Regions from separate parts of the Homo sapiens genome. Here region 2 is linked to region 1. The links are contacts of gene promoters, found by promoter capture Hi-C in blood cells and fetal thymus (Javierre and others, 2016). All regions are on one chromosome and are shown on one strand. Each heading gives the region's core, a stretch centred on a gene start or on the middle of the fragment in contact. The rest is flanking DNA. Distances are from core to core; before and after follow the strand shown. Region 1 holds the start of MANF (mesencephalic astrocyte derived neurotrophic factor). Region 2 holds the start of KIAA1143.

Region 1 (3,254 bases), core at 234-2,733:
TGCTGTGTATTTGTACAGGAATTTGAGCAAAAAATGTATAGAGTGTGATGTCCAATTGGTATTCAGCACTATAAATGTGTTTTTAACCTCCCGCATTCTGTGCTTATTTAAAACAAGGAAACTTCTAACCATTTCTTTTGTGTATTCATGTTTAAAGAAAAAAAGTGATTTAAAAATGATCTTACCTGTACCAGAAAAGCAAAGTTAAAGGAAACAAAATTTGTACCATTGTCCCAAGAGGTATTTTACTGTATATATTGTGGTAGCATGTTCAAAATCCAACAAGTAATGTGAATTTTAGATGTAAATATCTGCCACTTGATTTTTTTTCCCCCTTTCCCCACTTCCTTGACTGCTGTGATGTGAATTAAAGATAAATACGTGATACTGATCCACTGAATTCACTGAATGGGAGCAGAGGATGTGCCCCTCTCCAACCCTTGTCGCCGGGCTCCAAGCCCTTTTTAGCCCTATAGACATGTCCTTTTTGCACTGAGTAGAGCCAACGGTTCCCGCATCCTGCCTTGAAGGCAGGCAGCCAGGAGGGCACTTGAAAGGAGGGCAGTCGAAAAGGAAACATCCTCCAGTGCTTCTCTGGTGATTCCCGGGACCCCACTCAGGAGGTCCCACGGCAGCGGGGGACCCCGAGGGCCTAGCCGGGGAGGCAGGAGGAGGCTGGCCAGCCACCAAGCCACGATTCAGAGCTTGTAAGGGCACCTCCCGAGCCCCTCACCTTCCCACTCTGAGGCGACCCCATGTCCTCGACCGATGATCTGGCCCGGGCGCTTCCCTCCACGGTCTAGAGTGGCGGCCCAGCTTTGAGCTTGGCGCGCCTTGAGCCCTTCCTTCAGATGTCCCGCAGTCCGTCCACCCCGCACGTCTCCTATCAGCCTATGCACGGCGGGCTCCGGTCAGGTGGAGGATCAGCAGGTGGGCTTTCAAAGGTTGGATCCGTTGCCCACGCGAATGAAAGAAGAAAAAAGAAACCTCTTTGAGCCTTGCCTGCGGCCGCCCGCCCTTCCTGCCTAACCTGTTGTCTTGGCTGACCCCAGAACTCCTGCACCACGAGTCGGAGTCCGGGCGAGGAGATCAGCAGGGGTTTTCGAGGGAGCCTGGGGCCCAGGGCAGGGGTACGCGGGTCAACTCAACAGATGTAAGGCGTGGCCGAACCCCATTCAGCTAGCAGTACCCAGCCTCAGCCACAGTCGCTGCCCTTACCCAAGATGGCGGCCCACACCGCTTCCGTCGCTGCTGTAGTCGCTTCCTGCGGCCAGCCCGGGTTCAATCAGCGGCCGACAACTGTCTAGGGCTCAGACACCACCAGCCAATGAGGGAGGGCAGCGTGGAGCCGCCCGTCTGGGCTCGCGGCTCCTGGACCAATGGGGAAGTGGCATGTGGGAGGGCGCCGGGGGGCCCCCCGCCAATGGGGAGCTACGGCGCGCGGCCGGGACTTGGAGGCGGTGCGGCGCGGCGGGTGCGGTTCAGTCGGTCGGCGGCGGCAGCGGAGGAGGAGGAGGAGGAGGAGGATGAGGAGGATGAGGAGGATGTGGGCCACGCAGGGGCTGGCGGTGGCGCTGGCTCTGAGCGTGCTGCCGGGCAGCCGGGCGCTGCGGCCGGGCGACTGCGAAGGTGCGGGATAGGGGGCCGGGGGCCGCGCTCCGTGACCGTTCTGGCGGCGGCGCTGAACCCCACAACATCACCAGACGGCCGGGGCCAAGAGGGCGAGGGCGGGGGCGGGGGCGGGGGCGACAGCAGGTCCCCGCGGGGCCTGCATGAGGAGGCTCCGGCGCCCGCCCTAGTAAATCTTTCTTGGGCCTAGAAAACATTGGTCCGACGAAGAAAAGTTGAGACTAGATCCCGTTGAAAACTTGTCCTGAAATCTCCATCACTCCTGAGTTATTGTCCCCACCACCATCTAGAGGTTACCGCTCCCCGTTCGGCGTCGGGAGCTCCAGGGCTGGCCGTGGGTGCTGCGCCCTGTCTGTTGGGATCACGAAGCTGCACCTCTGGGTCCGCTGTTGTATTTGGAAATTAGCAGCAGCATTTTGATCATTTTTCTCTTCACCTTCCAGTCTCTCCATTTATGAGGTCACAGTGAGTCCCGTCTCAAGGACACGTGTTCACCATGGGCTTAAACTTGATGAAAGGAGCAGGGAGAAGTCGTTTATAGGTCATTGGGTGATGCTTGGTCCTTTGATGCCCTGGGTGTACCAGGGGACCCCCGCCACTTGGAACCGGGTTCTGTCTACCTGTAGACACCTGAGAAAAATCGGTGATGGAAAAGCTCACCTCTAATGATTCATCTCCGTGTCTCCTATTAAAATTGCTGGCGGAGTTCTTTTCTGGTGGATTGGAACAGCTTGGTGATTGCTGAGCATCTCCCGTCCCTCTCTTTTCCAGTTTGTATTTCTTATCTGGGAAGATTTTACCAGGACCTCAAAGACAGAGATGTCACATTCTCACCAGCCACTATTGAAAACGAACTTATAAAGTTCTGCCGGGAAGCAAGAGGCAAAGAGAATCGGTTGGTAAGTAGCTGGTGATCCTCCCCAACTGGCCCTGGCTCATGTTAACCCTCGGCTTCACCAGCCGTTTGATAAAAGGCCTTGCCCACCTCTCTGTTCAGGAAGCCAGCTACTCTCTCCATAAACTAATGTGAGAAGACTGAAGTGCTTCTATGTCCTTCCCAAAGCAGCATGTGTTCTGCAACTGTGATTTTTTTTTATCCTGTTAGTCTTTATTAAGCACCTACTATGTGCTAGGCACTGGGAATATCAGGGGAAAGAAGTGACAGTCGGACACACAAATAATGCAATGTCTGGGTGTCATGAAGAAAATGGACCAGCAGGTGCTGATTTAGAGTGGCCAAGAAGTCTCTGAGGAAGGGTTATCATTGAAGTGGGGTAAGACCATCCCATACAGGGAACAGCAGTGTGAGTGCCCAGAGGCCTGAAAGAGTGTGGCATGTATGTGGACAGGAGAAGGTGACAGGGTGCCTACAGGATAGGCAAGGGCCGAATCCAAGACAAAAGCCCTAGTGAAGCAATGGGTTTTCTAACTTGAATTTCTCTGACAGTCTCTGGCTTTTCTCTCTGTTAAAGGTTTGAACCCTGGTGACACTTAAATTCATTTGGTGGCTGTCAGCTTGGACTGAGCATGTGTTAAGAGTCCAGGGTTTACACTGGCTGAATCTGACTACCAGTACAGGCAGGGCACCGAAAAATGCCGCTGTGGGCCAGGTGCGGTGGCTCATG
Region 2 (3,254 bases), core at 225-2,724, 6.6 Mb before region 1:
TTAAGAGTTAGGGCCTTGCTCTAGATTAGGCTTTGGTTAAAGGGAATGTTGTGGCTGGTTTGCTCTTCTATCCAGACCACTAAAACTTTCTCTGTATCAGCAATGTAGCTGTTTTGCTTTCTTGTCATTCATGTGTTCAATACTGATCCCTCCGGCCCTAGACAACAATAGTCAGGTGTGGCTCTTTCCTGAAGCTCCTCTTCTTCTATTTAGACCCAGGATATTTACGGCTTCTGCTTACTCTTCTTTTTTTTCTTTTTTTTGAGACGGAGTCTCGCTCTGTCGCCCAGTCTGGAGTGCAGTGGCGCGATCTCGGCTCACTGCAAGCTCCTCCTCCTGGGTTCACGCCATTCTCCTGCCTCAGCCTCCCGAGTAGCTGGGACTACAGGCGCCCGCCACCATGCCTGGCTAATTTTTTGTATTTTTAGTAGAGACGCGGTTTCACTGTTTTAGCCAGGATGGTCTCGATCTCCTGACCTCGTGATCTGCCGCCTCAGCCTCCCAGAGCGCTGGGATTACAGGCGTGAGCCACCAGGCCCGGCTTTTTTTTTTTTTTTTTGAGACGGAGTCTCGCTCTGTTGTCCAGGCTGGAGTGCAGCTGCGCCATCTCAACTCACTGCAACGTCCACCTCCCGGGTTCGAGCGATTCTGTCTCAGCCTCCGGAGTAGCTGGGACTACAGGCATGTGCCACCATGCCCGGCTAATTTTTGTATTTTTAGCAGAGACGGGGGGTTTCACCATATTGGCTATTGGCTCTGCTGGTCTCGAACTCCTGACCTCAGGTGATCCGCCCACCTAGGCCTCCCAAAGTACTGGGATTACAGGCGTGAGCCACTGTGCCCGACCTTCTCTATATTATTTTTATTTATTTTTAATTAACAAAGCATAGAAACAGATTCAGGACATTCCTCCGAAGACGTTCCAGACTCGAGTCCTAGGACATGGTTGGGGCGGGGGTCATTTGATCGAGTGGCCTGTGTCCTTATCTGGAATACGGGACGACGCTGTAACTCTAACTCACCCTGCGAACTCACAGCTTTTGAGGTAAACAAGTGAGAAAGAAGAGACAATAAAGTGATCTTTCTTTACCATCTACCAAGGACCAGGTGGTTTACACGTCAGTTCATTTTCAGGAACACAGCAGCGCTCTGAAAACTACAGAGCTTCCTGGGCGTAGGGGGCTGTGGTCGCTTGAAAAGAACCAGCCTGGGGGTCCGAGTTCCACCGGAATTGGGTTCGAGCGCGGGTGAAAAGAGGGACCCGACAGCACCCACCCTCCAAGTAGAGGCAAAAGTTGAAAGTGGCGGGCTGGCTGCGCTTCCGAAGAAACACGACTGGCGAAGGCTCACCTTAGTCTCTACGGTGGGTCCCTCCCTGTAGCCGACCCGTTCCTTGAAGCGGGCCAGAAACGCCGGCTCGGCTGGCCGCACGTACGATACCTGGTTCCGCTTGCTCATGGTAGCTCTGGGTAAAGACAGAAGACAGGTTCCGCGACGGATTCGCGACGATACAGAGGCGCTTAGCTGTGACGTCACTGGGCCACGCCCCCGATGCGTAGGCCGGGCAACATGGCGGCCTCCATGCGGGCGTCAACGTCCGATCCAAGCGCCAAATTCAAATTTGCGGCCATCTTGAGCGGGCGGAATTCAGTCGCGCGCGGTGCAGTCGGGAGGTGGAGGCACCGGCTGCATTGTTTTCGGGATCGAGGGGTGAGGGCGCTATGGCACCCGGCTGCAAAAGTAAGTCTGGGCCCCCGGCTTCGTTACCCTATTTTTGCCCCCAAATACAGCTGTGAAAGGATGGCAGCCTCGGACCGCCCGCAAGGTTCTTGCTAGGCATGAACTGCAGGAGCTGAGTGACCGGCGGGGACGTTTGGGAATCCCGCTCTGTCGCTCAAAGACAATACGCTAGCCGAAAAGCTCATCCCTTCCTTCAGTGTCCTGTGCGCATGCCAGGAGTCTGGCGCAGTTCTAGGCGCTCGGGATGAGCAGTGGACCTGACGTTCTTCCCTTTCTTTCCCTTGGTTCTGCTGTTTCTTCGCAGGCCTCTTCCCACATCCCGACCAGGGCTACCTCTCTAGATATCCTTGTCTCAGGATCGGCTTTTGCTCCCACCAGCTTCTGCGTATTTCTACATTTCTGACCTTCCTATAGGGAAGGGTTTATTTATATTCCAAACATTTCTTTCTCCTCTTTCCTTAAATAAATGGAATGTTAAAACACAGATGTCAGCAATGTCTTTATGTTCTCACAGTCTCTATTTTCACTTAAAGGAGACCCGTCCGATTTCTTTCTCTTTTTCACGGAGGAGAGCACTGTCATTTTGCTTATGATAAACCCTACAGTTTTCACTAACGTAGTCATTTGCTGTGCCTGTGTACGTGCTCCACTTCTCACATTGCCACATCTCTTAAGGAGTCTTATTTTTGTAAACCTGATTATGAGCTGATTTAATGGGATCTTTGTGAGTGGTCTGAATGGTAATGAGGAGAGGCCTGGATTAGATGATTAAGAATTTGTGAACTTCTGTCATTTGAGCTTTCCAACGCCGTTAATGTTTCTAGCTTTCTGTCAATTGTAGTCGTTTTTGATGGGTTTGTTGTTTCATTAATCTTTTAGGTCGATCACACCTAATCGGAACACCTCCTTATGCTACCTTTTTGCATATAAAATATTCCTTTTCCTTTCATCATTTTCAGTATTCAAGGACTATGAGCTCACAAAATGGTACCTTATTGGAGAGAAATGTTCATCCTGCTTTCTGAACAATCATACTGTTTGTTCTTTGTTTCCACTTTATGGATCAGTCACTAAATCTGGACTCAAGCAAAAAATTTGATGCCTGTTAAATAAGTAAAACATCTGCTTATTTAATGAGATATATGTATGTGACTGAGGGCTCTTGTCTGAAAACCAAATTTGAGAACCTTTCTAAAGTGGTGGGAGCACTCTCCTTTATGATGGTGGTGATGCCATGGGGAACTTTTCCACTCCTTTAAGTTTGTTGGCAAAATTGAGGTTGATGACTTCCCAGTTAAAGTGCTTCTTGCATTCCCAGCAGCCCAGAGGCCTGGAGCATGAAGTGGGAACACATGGGAGAAGAGAGCCCGTGCAGTGGTCTTTGCAACTTTTACTTTGTGCCCCGAAGGCTATCTCTCTCTCTCTTTTTTATTTTTGAGACAGAGTCTTGCTCTATTGCCGGGCTGGAGTGCAGTGGTGCGATATTGGCTCACTGCAACCTCCGCCTCCCGGGT

Evidence for each region. Contacts are between HindIII fragments. The CHiCAGO score rates a contact against its expected background, and 5 or more counts as called.
Region 2: a contact is called between the fragment with the promoter of KIAA1143 here and the fragment with the promoter of MANF in region 1, in 1 of 17 cell types (neutrophils). The highest score is 9.2, in neutrophils.

Annotation. Positions count from the first base shown.
Region 1 is chr3:51,383,808-51,387,061 of GRCh38, forward strand. MANF (mesencephalic astrocyte derived neurotrophic factor) reads left to right here and starts at 1,484. Exons shown (of 4, transcript NM_006010.6): 1 at 1,484-1,629; 2 at 2,401-2,528. The coding sequence starts at 1,536. It overlaps DOCK3 (dedicator of cytokinesis 3), which reads left to right. Exons shown (of 53, transcript NM_004947.5): 53 at 1-391. RefSeq lists an enhancer at 900-1,249 and a silencer at 1,310-1,679. The HindIII fragment of the contact is 4,055 bases long and covers 1-3,254 here.
Region 2 is chr3:44,760,145-44,763,398 of GRCh38, forward strand. KIAA1143 reads right to left here and starts at 1,475. Exons shown (of 3, transcript NM_020696.4): 1 at 1,351-1,475. The coding sequence starts at 1,458. It overlaps KIF15 (kinesin family member 15), which reads left to right and starts at 1,650. Exons shown (of 35, transcript NM_020242.3): 1 at 1,650-1,740. The coding sequence starts at 1,722. RefSeq lists enhancers at 1-630, 1,421-1,700. The HindIII fragment of the contact is 21,704 bases long and covers 1-3,254 here.